2 separate regions of the Homo sapiens genome follow, and region 2 is linked to region 1. Evidence: promoter capture Hi-C in 16 types of primary human blood cells and fetal thymus (Javierre and others, 2016). All regions are on one chromosome and are shown on one strand. Each heading gives the region's core, a stretch centred on a gene start or on the middle of the fragment in contact. The rest is flanking DNA. Distances are from core to core; before and after follow the strand shown. Region 1 holds the start of HEY1 (hes related family bHLH transcription factor with YRPW motif 1). Region 2 overlaps LINC02235 (long intergenic non-protein coding RNA 2235).

The links. The method cuts DNA at HindIII sites, captures the fragments that hold promoters and counts their contacts. A CHiCAGO score of 5 or more calls a contact.
Region 2: a fragment that was not itself captured here is called in contact with the fragment with the promoter of HEY1 in region 1 in 1 of 17 cell types (total CD8 T cells); the score reaches 5.3 in total CD8 T cells.

Annotation. Positions count from the first base shown.
Region 1 is chr8:79,764,222-79,769,655 of GRCh38, reverse strand. It overlaps HEY1 (hes related family bHLH transcription factor with YRPW motif 1), which reads left to right and starts at 1,889. Exons shown (of 5, transcript NM_012258.4): 1 at 1,889-2,081; 2 at 2,362-2,437; 3 at 2,564-2,647; 4 at 2,924-3,005; 5 at 3,885-5,434. The coding sequence starts at 1,993. The coding sequence ends at 4,468. It overlaps LINC01607 (long intergenic non-protein coding RNA 1607), which reads right to left and starts at 1,514. Exons shown (of 4, transcript NR_125410.1): 1 at 1,438-1,514. It overlaps LOC101927040 (a long non-coding RNA gene), which reads left to right. Exons shown (of 6, transcript NR_110954.1): 6 at 1-284. RefSeq lists silencers at 717-886, 987-1,346, 1,387-1,866 and enhancers at 2,317-2,366, 3,953-4,192. The HindIII fragment of the contact is 6,216 bases long and covers 403-5,434 here.
Region 2 is chr8:81,845,377-81,851,462 of GRCh38, reverse strand. LINC02235 (long intergenic non-protein coding RNA 2235) reads right to left here. Exons shown (of 8, transcript NR_170320.1): 3 at 2,356-2,472; 4 at 1,944-2,077. Among named protein-coding and RNA genes, the nearest start is that of LINC02235, 5.8 kb to the right of the region's middle. The HindIII fragment of the contact is 676 bases long and covers 3,133-3,808 here.

The DNA of each region.
Region 1 (5,434 bases), core at 640-3,139:
TGGCTTAGGCCTGTAATCCCAGTACTTTGGGAGGCCAAGGCAGGCGGATCACCTTTGGTCAGGAGTTTGAGACAAGCCTGGCCAACATGGTGAAACCTCGTTTCTACTAAAAATACCAAAAACAATTAGCTGAGCATGGTGGCGCGCGTCTGTAATCCCAGCTTCTGGGGAGGCCGAGGCAGGAGAATTGCTTCAACCCGGGAGGCGGAGGTTGCAGTGAGCCGAGATCGCGCCACTGCACTCCAGCCTGGGCGACAGAGTGAGACACCATCTCAAAAAAAAAATAGCATTGAGATCAATAAGGAAGTCTAGAAACCAGGAAGCTTTTTGCAAAGAGAAAACGCCTTTTGTTATTCTCACCGATGGATATTAAGCTTTCCCTCACAGACAGGACTACAAGCTTCAGAGTGGATCTGAGATGAATGCGAATTGCTGTGTACCTTTGTAAGGGACAGAAGACCGGATTTTCAAATTTAAAACAACCATTCTGTTTCTGGAATCAGAAATCAGTTTCGAGATTTACAACTGTATTTTTTAAAAAATCTGTCTTCTTAGTGGACTCGGGGGGGACTTCACGTGGCACCCAGTACACGCCACGCCAAGCCACCGAAGCCAGAGGTGTGTGTCTGGGGCCAGAGACGTGCATTCCCTCAGCAAGGCCGGCCTCAGACGCAAACGCCAGCACCGCCACCCTGTCGCCCGCTGAGAGGATCTGGCCGCCGGGGGGAGGGGGCGGGGGGGGGGGCAGCGGGGGAACAACAAAAAAATCCCAGCATAATGATTATTCCCAGGGACCGTTGGGTTTTTTTTTCCCCAAGGCGGCCGAAAAAACAAGTGCTCCCCTTCCCCGGAAATGAGATGCACAGGGGTATTCATTCCATTCCGCGGCTGGGAAGCCCCTGCGGAAACGAGTCTGGCTGCATGTGCGGCCTCGGTCCCAGAAATCAAAAAGAGCGTCCCCTGAGCCCACAGCTTGCTCCTCCATGTGACCGGCCCCTGGGCTGGTGGCCACTGTGGACGCGCCCGGCGCCCCCTCTCCCGGCTCCCTGCGGGTTCCGCGGAGCCGCCGGCGCGCAGCCCGGCCAGGTGCACCCGGCACGGCCCCACTAACAGCGCGCGCCTCCAGCCGCCGGGCACTGGCGGCCACGCGGGCGAGATTTACGGTGGCGCTAGGCGGCGGCTTCCGAGGCCGGCCGGCGCCCAGGCTCCGATTACAGGTTCACACTGGGGGCCCGGCCGGCGGCCGCCCAGCCCCCGCCGGCGCGCCCTCGCGCGGCCCGGCTCCCCGCCTGCCCATTCTTCTCCATTCATGCGGACGCCCAGCGCCGCCGCCGCCGCCGCCAGCGCGGCCGCCGCCGTCGCCGTCGCCGGCCGCCCGGATTGGCTGGCGGCCGCGGCGCCGGCACTTTCCCACGGCCCGCGGCGCGTGCGGCTCACCGGAGGCGCTGCAGGCTCGGCCCTGGCGCGCGGCCAGGCCAATCGGGGCGCGCGGGGCGGGGAGGAGCCGCGGCCGCCGGCGGGCTTGTGTCCCGGCCCGGCCTCCCGCGCCTCCCCGCCGCCCGCGCCTCCTCCTTCCCCTGAGTGCAGGCTGGACAGAGCCCCCGCGGAGCCGACGCACCGCCGCCGGGCAGGGGCGGGCGCGGAGGGCGGGGGCGCGGTCCGCTAGAGCCCTCGGCCTCGCTCCCGCCCCTCCCCGGAGCGGCTGCCAATCAGCGGCGCGAGAAACCGGATTGGCCGGGGGGCGGCTGTTGCCCTGGAGTTGCCGCCCCGCCTCTCCGCCCCCTCGCCCGCCTTCCCCACTCCCCCGCCCTCCCCAGGGCCCTGGGAAGGGGCTCAGCGTGGGAAAGGATGGTTGAGTTTTAACCAGAGGCAAAGCGTGAGCGGGATCAGTGTGTGCGGAACGCAAGCAGCCGAGAGCGGAGAGGCGCCGCTGTAGTTAACTCCTCCCTGCCCGCCGCGCCGACCCTCCCCAGGAACCCCCAGGGAGCCAGCATGAAGCGAGCTCACCCCGAGTACAGCTCCTCGGACAGCGAGCTGGACGAGACCATCGAGGTGGAGAAGGAGAGTGCGGACGAGAATGGGTGAGCTGGCGGCGGCGGAGCGGAGCCGAGCCAGAGCGGGAGGCGAGCGCAGGCCTGCCGCGGTGACAGCGGGCTAGGACCCTTGGCGCGCCGGTGCCCTGCGCTGACCTCCGCGCGTCGCAGGCTGGCGGCAGCCTGCGGCCAGGGAACCCCTAGGTGCCTTCCAGCCCAAGTGGCAAAAAAAGTCTGAGTGCGGGGAGGGTGTGGGGGCGACCTCTCAGATCACCTCTCCTCGTTTAACGGCGATTTCAGTTTTTGTTTGTTCTTTTTCTCTTTTCAGAAACTTGAGTTCGGCTCTAGGTTCCATGTCCCCAACTACATCTTCCCAGATTTTGGCCAGAAAAAGACGGAGAGGAGTGAGTCTCTTTACACTCTCCTTTTATTTTTGTTATTGATTAACGGAAATAACCACCTTTTTTTTTGTCTTTGAAATTTACAGTCGTAATGGTAATGCCTTCCTTTGTTTTGCTTGCCTTCTGCAGATAATTGAGAAGCGCCGACGAGACCGGATCAATAACAGTTTGTCTGAGCTGAGAAGGCTGGTACCCAGTGCTTTTGAGAAGCAGGTAATGGAGCAAGTAGGTAAAGCTCTCAGCATAGCTATCTGCACCTTCTGAATCTTCCCCTCATTAATCTCATCCGCCTTGGAAAATAGCTGTGTTGCTTGTGCCTAGATGAATTCGTACACAGATACCAGCGTATTTTGTGAAGACAACTGATTTTGCTTTAGTCCATGCTTTACGATTTACAAAGCATGTATCTTTGTATATATGTTTGCATATTTTAAATTGTTCCCCAAAGGAACTTGTGCCAAATCAATCTTTTGCCATTCTCATCTTTAGGGATCTGCTAAGCTAGAAAAAGCCGAGATCCTGCAGATGACCGTGGATCACCTGAAAATGCTGCATACGGCAGGAGGGAAAGGTACATCTCCTAGACCTAGTGGGGGCTCTGAATGGTTGGCAAAGAGTGAGCAGCGGCTGAAGGCCAGGATTGGTGCAGTAGCTGCCTGATTTTTCTTTGGGGGTGGGGAGAGAACGGTGTGTGGTGTGTGCAGTTCCCTGTCAGTACATTTTCGAATGCACATAGAATCTTCTCCAGTGAATTCACCACCCCAGCTCTCTGCGGATTGAGCTAGTGCATCTTTTGGAAAAATACCTATTATTTGTGAGGTCTTCAAAAGTTGTGACAGCCCTGATTCAGATCAGGTAGCTTTCACATTTGTCCATTGCTATTTTGAGAAAAAGCATTTAAAAACAATATGTGGTCTTATTTTTGGTATACGGGATTTTAAAAAAAAGGTGCTGCCACATGCCTCTTGAGGAAAGAAATGTATTCTGGTTAAGTAAAGGAAACCTAACGGGAGACCAAGGTCTGTGTGTATGTCTCTCCAGCAGGAAAATGCTTTACTGAGGTCCAAGTGCCTAAAAGCTCCGCGATGATAACTTACATCTGTGTGTCTAATGAATTTCACTGCTCTGTGGTTTCTCTGCCCTTGATGTATTTTTTGTTGTTGTTGAGGGAAAACATTAAAGGAATGAACATAGTTTCATCTGCTGGTAGGGTATAATTCCAATTTCTGCTCTGCAGCTTCTAATTGGGCTTTGAACTTGCATTAGCAAACACATTCTGCTTATGTTGATTAATGCAAAGATTTTTGTTGATTCCAAAGACTTTCGGAAGAACCCCTGACTGTTGTGTTTTAAGGGATGCAGGTATCTGCCAGGAAGGGCTGTCTCTGGGACTTAAGAAATGAGGGAAACGGGCAAAGCCCTGAGATTTTTCTTTTGTTCTTTTGCTTAGGTTACTTTGACGCGCACGCCCTTGCTATGGACTATCGGAGTTTGGGATTTCGGGAATGCCTGGCAGAAGTTGCGCGTTATCTGAGCATCATTGAAGGACTAGATGCCTCTGACCCGCTTCGAGTTCGACTGGTTTCGCATCTCAACAACTACGCTTCCCAGCGGGAAGCCGCGAGCGGCGCCCACGCGGGCCTCGGACACATTCCCTGGGGGACCGTCTTCGGACATCACCCGCACATCGCGCACCCGCTGTTGCTGCCCCAGAACGGCCACGGGAACGCGGGCACCACGGCCTCACCCACGGAACCGCACCACCAGGGCAGGCTGGGCTCGGCACATCCGGAGGCGCCTGCTTTGCGAGCGCCCCCTAGCGGCAGCCTCGGACCGGTGCTCCCTGTGGTCACCTCCGCCTCCAAACTGTCGCCGCCTCTGCTCTCCTCAGTGGCCTCCCTGTCGGCCTTCCCCTTCTCTTTCGGCTCCTTCCACTTACTGTCTCCCAATGCACTGAGCCCTTCAGCACCCACGCAGGCTGCAAACCTTGGCAAGCCCTATAGACCTTGGGGGACGGAGATCGGAGCTTTTTAAAGAACTGATGTAGAATGAGGGAGGGGAAAGTTTAAAATCCCAGCTGGGCTGGACTGTTGCCAACATCACCTTAAAGTCGTCAGTAAAAGTAAAAAGGAAAAAGGTACACTTTCAGATAATTTTTTTTTTAAAGACTAAAGGTTTGTTGGTTTACTTTTATCTTTTTTAATGTTTTTTTCATCATGTCATGTATTAGCAGTTTTTAAAAACTAGTTGTTAAATTTTGTTCAAGACATTAAATTGAAATAGTGAGTATAAGCCAACACTTTGTGATAGGTTTGTACTGTGCCTAATTTACTTTGTAAACCAGAATGATTCCGTTTTTGCCTCAAAATTTGGGGAATCTTAACATTTAGTATTTTTGGTCTGTTTTTCTCCTTGTATAGTTATGGTCTGTTTTTAGAATTAATTTTCCAAACCACTATGCTTAATGTTAACATGATTCTGTTTGTTAATATTTTGACAGATTAAGGTGTTGTATAAATAATATTCTTTTGGGGGGAGGGGAACTATATTGAATTTTATATTTCTGAGCAAAGCGTTGACAAATCAGATGATCAGCTTTATCCAAGAAAGAAGACTAGTAAATTGTCTGCCTCCTATAGCAGAAAGGTGAATGTACAAACTGTTGGTGGCCCTGAATCCATCTGACCAGCTGCTGGTATCTGCCAGGACTGGCAGTTCTGATTTAGTTAGGAGAGAGCCGCTGATAGGTTAGGTCTCATTTGGAGTGTTGGTGGAAAGGAAACTGAAGGTAATTGAATAGAATACGCCTGCATTTACCAGCCCCAGCAACACAAAGAATTTTTAATCACACGGATCTCAAATTCACAAATGTTAACATGGATAAGTGATCATGGTGTGCGAGTGGTCAATTGAGTAGTACAGTGGAAACTGTTAAATGCATAACCTAATTTTCCTGGGACTGCCATATTTTCTTTTAACTGGAAATTTTTATGTGAGTTT
Region 2 (6,086 bases), core at 2,221-4,720, 2.1 Mb before region 1:
CATTGCATTTCTCTGATGACCAGTGATGATGAACATTTTTTCATGTGTCTGTTGGCTGCATAAATGTCTTCTTTTGAGAAGTGTCTGTTCATATCCTTTGTCCACTTTTTGATGGGGTTGTTTTTTTCTTGTAAATTTGCTTAAGTTATTTGTAGATTCTGGATATTAGCCCTTTGTCAGATGGGTAGATTGCAAAGATTTCCTCGCATTCTGTAGGTTGCCTGTTCACTCTAGTGATAGTTTCTTTTGCTGTGCAGAAGCTCTTTAGTTTAATTAGATTCCATTTGTCAATTTTGGCTTTTGTTGCCATTGCTTTTGGTGTTTTAGTCATGAAGTCTTTGGCCATGCCTACGTCCTGAATGGTATTGCCTAGGTTTTCTTCTAGGATTTTTATGGTTTTAGGTCTTACATTTAAGTCTTTAATCCATCTTGAGTTAATTTTTGTATAAGGTGTAAGGAAGGGATCCAGTTTCAGCTTTCTACATATGGCTAGCCAGTTTTCCCAGCACCATTTATTAAATAGGGAATCCTTTCCCCATTTCTGGTTTTTGTCAGGTTTGTCAAAGATCAGATGGTTGTAGATGTGTGGTCTTATTTCTGAGGCCTCTGTTCTGTTCCATTAGTCTATATCCCTGTTTTGGTACCAGTACCATGCTGTTTTGGTTACTGTAGCCTTGTAGTATAATTTGAAGTCAGGTAGTGTGATGCCTCTAGCTTTGTTCTTTTTACTTAGGATTGTCTTGGCTATGCAGGCTCTTTTTTGGTTCCATATGAACTTTAGAGTAGTTTTTTCCAATTCTGTGAAGAAAGACATTGGTAGCTTGATGGAAATGGCATTGAATCTATAAATTACCTTGGGCAATATGGCCATTTTCATGACATTGATTCTTCCTATCCATGAGCATGGAATGCTCTTCCATTTGTTTGTGTCCTCTTTCATTTTGTTGAGCAGTGGTTTGTAGTTCTCCTTGAAGAGGTCCTTCACATCCCTTGTAAGTTGGATTCCTAGGTATTTTATTCTCTTTCTAGCAATTGTGAATGGGAGTTCACTCATGATTTGATTCTCTGTTTGTCTATCATTGGTATATAGGAATGCTTATGATTTTTGTACATTGATTTTGCATCCTGAAACTTTGCTGAAGTTGCTTATCAGCTTAAGAAGATTTCGGGCTGAGACTATGGGGTTTTTCTAAATATACAATCATGTCATCTGCAAACAGGGACAATTTGACTTCCTCTTTTCCCAATTTAATACCTTTTCTTTCTCTCTCTTACCTGATTGCCCTGGCCAGAATTTCCAACACTATGTTGAATAGGAGTGGTGAGAGAGAGCATCCTTGTCTTGTGCCAGTTTTCAAAGGGAATGCTTCAGTTTTTGCCCATTCAGTATGATATTGGCTGTGGGTTTGTCATAAATAGCTCTTATTATTTTGAGATACATCCCCATCAATACCTAGTTTATTAAGAGTGTTTAGCATGAAGGGCTGTTGAATTTTGTCAAATGCTTTTTCTGCATCTATTGAGATAATCATGTGGCTTTAGTCATTGCTTCTGTTTATATGATGGATTATGTTTATTGATTTGCATATGTTGAACCAGCCTTGCATCCCAGGGATGAAGCTGACTTGATTGTGGTAGATAAGCTTTTTGATGTGCTGCTGGATTCTGTTTGCCAATATTTTATTGAGGATTTTTGCATTGATGTTCATCAGGGATATTGGTCTCATTTTTCAACTGCCACAGAGAAGGAGAGGTCGTAAAGAGAGTAGCCTCTGATATCCAGTCAGCATGAATAAACCTTAGGTTCCCTGCTTCCAGACCCTATTTTCCTGCCTCATATTCCCCCTGAGAGATGTGATTCCCATAAATCTTTATGGGAAGCAGAGGGATTGATGGTCTTTCTTCTGTAGCTGCTTCATGCTAACTTGGGGTGCAATCCCTACCTATTGCTGATCATGGAAATTTTTCCCTGCTCTATCCAGTGGAGGCAGGGTAGTTTATTGATCGCTGGGGGTGCTATCTTCATTTGGAACTGGCTGGCAATGTTGTTGCATGATCATATGAAGCTCAATGGTCTCTAGGTGAGAGGAAATGAATTTGGTTAAAAGATCTAATGGGAACTTCAGGGGGTGGATACCTATGCTATCAGGAATGTTTGTTATAGGGAGAAATTAAAACATTCTGCTTAATTGCTACAAAGGGAGTGATTCCAAACATTTGAAAAAAGAAAAACTGCAAAAATATATAAAAATATGGCTATTATTATCCAGCCAAATATATAAAAATATGGCTATTATTATCCAACCTACAATAACTATGCAACAAAAACACCAAGGAAAGTTGGTAGGCATTTACTTATCTTTTGGCTGTCTTCTAAACAGGCACTTCAGGTCTTCCACAGGTTCACAGGTGTAGTGGCTGAAGGAAACTTCAGGTTCCAGGTCTGAGGCTTCAGGTATCACAGACTTGATCCTTGAAAGATGTATCCAATTATTTAAATCCTAATACTTTGACCATGGAAAGCATGGCCAGCACCACTGAAAATGTTCCCTTCCATTTGGGCTGTAGTTGTTGAGCAGGCGATCCCTCCTTCCAAGTTTTAACAAGTATCTTATCTCTTGGCCTGATTTTGGGATGCTGGTTAGCTCCTGGTATGGGGAACCTTTGAGTTCCAAACTTTTGTGAAAGCCTGCTGAAATTGTCCATTAACTAGGTATTTCACTAAACCAGCTGTTTCTGGATCAGTAATTAGATCATTAGTTAAGAATGGCCTTCCGTATAACATTTCATATGGGTTTATGTTAATTTTTGCTCTAGAGGTATTGCAGATCCTTAAGAGGGCTATAGTCAGTAAGCTGACCCAAATTTCTGATGTTTCCTAACATAGCTTACCTAATGCTTGTTCTAGAGTTTGGTTAACCCTTTCTACTTTCCCGAAGAATTGAGTCCTCCATGCTGAATGTAAATAGTATTTGATTCTGAAGGTCTTAGCGACCCCTTTAGTTATTTGGGAGATAAAGGATGGGCCATTATCTCTTTGGAGACTCTGAGGTTACCCAAACTAAGGGACTATTTATTTGTAAGAGAAACTTTATAACCTCAATAGCCTTCTCTGTTCTGGTAGGATAAGCTTCGACCCAACCAGTAAAGGTATCTATCAGGACTAACAAAAACTTGTATCCTCTACAAGCGGGCATTTGGGTGAAGTCTAATTGACAGTGTTCCCCTGGGTAAGTTCCTCTCCTCTGGACTGATTCTATTAGAGGAAGCATTTTGTTTCCTGGACTGTTAAGTGCACACAGTGAGCAGGATTGACAGACCTGCTTAACCACTGAATCTAAGTTAGGCCCAATGAAGAGCCTGTTAACCATGGCCAGGGTGGCATCTCCACTGGGCTGTTTGAGGGAGATTTAGTTTGATTCCATATACCACCCGGATACTTATTTTTGTCCCCCTTGTTCCTTTATTAACTGTTCTTCCTATAGCGTGTATTCAGGATCCATTCAGGAATCATAGAAAGGAAGCAGTGCTAGGATCTGTTGGGATTGCACCCTGAGGGATACGGCTTTAGCTTCTCTATCAGCCCTTCTGTTCCCTTGTGCTATAGGAAGTAAGTCCCTTTGATGCCCCCTACAATGGATTATAGCTACAGCCTTTGGCAGGTGTATTGCTTCCAACAGCTGAAGAATTTCAGGCCCGTGCTTTATTGGGGAGTATTTGCTATTTAGTAGTCCCTTTTCTTTCCAGATTGTAGCATGAGCATGAAACATAAGGAACGCATATTTAGAATCTGGATAGATGTTAAGCTTTTTCCTTTGTCTCAACATTAGTGCTCAGGTAAGAACAATGATTTCAGTATTTTGTGCTGATGTGCCAGGGGGCAGTGGCTGGGCTTCAATAATGGTGTTGTGATTTACCATTGCATATCCAACTCAGCACTCCCCATTTGACACAAAACTACTGCCATCTGTGAACCAGTTATCTTCAGAATCTGGGAGAGGCTAATCTTTTAAATTAGGCCAGCTAATATATGTGTGTACAATGACCTGCTCACAGGAATCATCAGTTATTGGGCCTGTGGGTAGCAATGAAGCTGGATTCAAGGTGTTACAAGTTTTAAGGGTTACATCTGGATTGTCTAGCAGCATGGCCTGGCATATGTTTAACCTTTCCTCCATCATCCACATGTGTCCTTTTATCTCTAAGACTGGCTTTACCTGATGGGGGGTTAGAACTTCCAGTGGTTGGCCCAGGGTGATTTTAGTGGCTTCCTCCACAAACATAGCAGTGGCTATTGCCTGCAGGAAACTTGGTCATCTCGAGGCTGCTCCATCCAACTTCCTTGAAAAGCAGGCAGTTGGTCTGGGTTCTGATCCTAATTTCTAGGCTAGCACTCCCACAGCTACGCCCTTCTCAGCTACATACAAGAAGGGCTTAGTTATGTCTGGGATGCCAAGAGCAGGAGCCTGGTAAGGGCCTATTTTAGCTTGGTGAAGGCTTCTCATTTCTGGGGTCAATTCCGTTAGCTCATTTTCAGGCCTCCTTGTTGCTTCATATACGAGCTTTGCTACAAGCCCCAAATTTGGTACCAATATTCTGCAAAACCCAGCCATTCCCCAGAAAGAACAAAGCTGCGCTTGGTGGCTGTGGGGCAACCACATATGGCTTGCACTCATTCTGGGGATATTTGTCGGGTTCCCGGTGTTAAGACATACCCTAAATATTGGATCCATTGGAGGGTAATCTGAGCCTTCTTTTTGGACACTTCACATCCTCTGTCAGCCAGGAAATTCAACGTTTTTATAGTATTTTGGTCAGAAGCCTCCTGGGTTGGGCTACACACAAGAAGTTCAACCACATACTGGAATATACTTCCATTCTCCAATTGCAGATCCCTCAGATCCCTCTCTACAGATCAGGCTAAGAAATCAGGGCTATCCTGAAAGCCCTGAGGGAGTACTGTCCAAATGTATTGTTTTTTTTTTTTCTGGTATTAGGATTTTCCCATTCAAAGGCAAAAAGGTATTGGGATTCTGGGGCCAGAGGAATAGAGATGAAAGCATCTTTTAGGTCTAGGAGAAACATTTTGCATCCCCTGGCACCTAAGCCAGGAGGGTATATGGATCCACCACCAATGGGTGGACGGGGATAACAGTGTGATAAATTATTCTGAAATCCTGTACTAGCAGGTATTCCCTCAAGGGCTTTAGAATGGTTAAGATGGGGGTGTTTCAGGGAGAATTGCAGGTTTTTAAGAGCTCATGGGTAAGCAATATCTCAACTATGGATGCCAGGCCTTTTCTTGCTTCCAGCTTAAATGGGTATTGTTTTCAATTGGGGCAATAGCTGGGGTCTTTAAACTGGTATTTTGACTGGCACTGCTGTTTTAGCTTTCCCTGGTGATATGGTTTGGCTGTGTCTCCACCCAAATCTCATCTTGAATTCCCACATGTTATAGGAGACACCCAGTGGGAGGTAATTGAATCATAGGGGAAGGTCTTTCCCTTGCTGTTCTCATGATCATGAACAAGCCTCACAAGATCTGAGAGTTTTATAAGAGGGAGTTTGCCTGCACAACCTCTCTCTTTGCCTACTACCATCCACGTAGGATGTGACTTGCTCCTCCCTTGCCTTCCACCATGATTGGAGGCCTCCCCAGCTATATGGAACTGCAAGTCCATTAAATTTCTTTCTTTTGTAAATCATCCAGTCTCGAGTTTGTCCTTATCAGCAGTGTGAAAATGGACTAATACACCTGGCTTCCCAGCATAACATGCTAGCAGGTTAACCTGTTTATTAATGTGGTCTGGGATATTGTCTGTATTTTTGACTATTAGCAATTTTACTGGGTAATGCTTAAATTTGTAGTAGTGCCCCTATTTTAATGATAATATCGCTTCCCAACAGGTGGACAAGGCAGCTTGGAACTACTAAAGATTTATGTTGGAACATTTGTTTCTCAAACTGACAAAGGAGAAGTAAAGAATCTCGTTTGTGGCTTTCCTTCCATTCCCGGAACACTCTTAGACTGGGAGGAAAGTTTTCCTGCATAAGCAGTAAGGACAGAGTAATTCGCCCCTGTATTG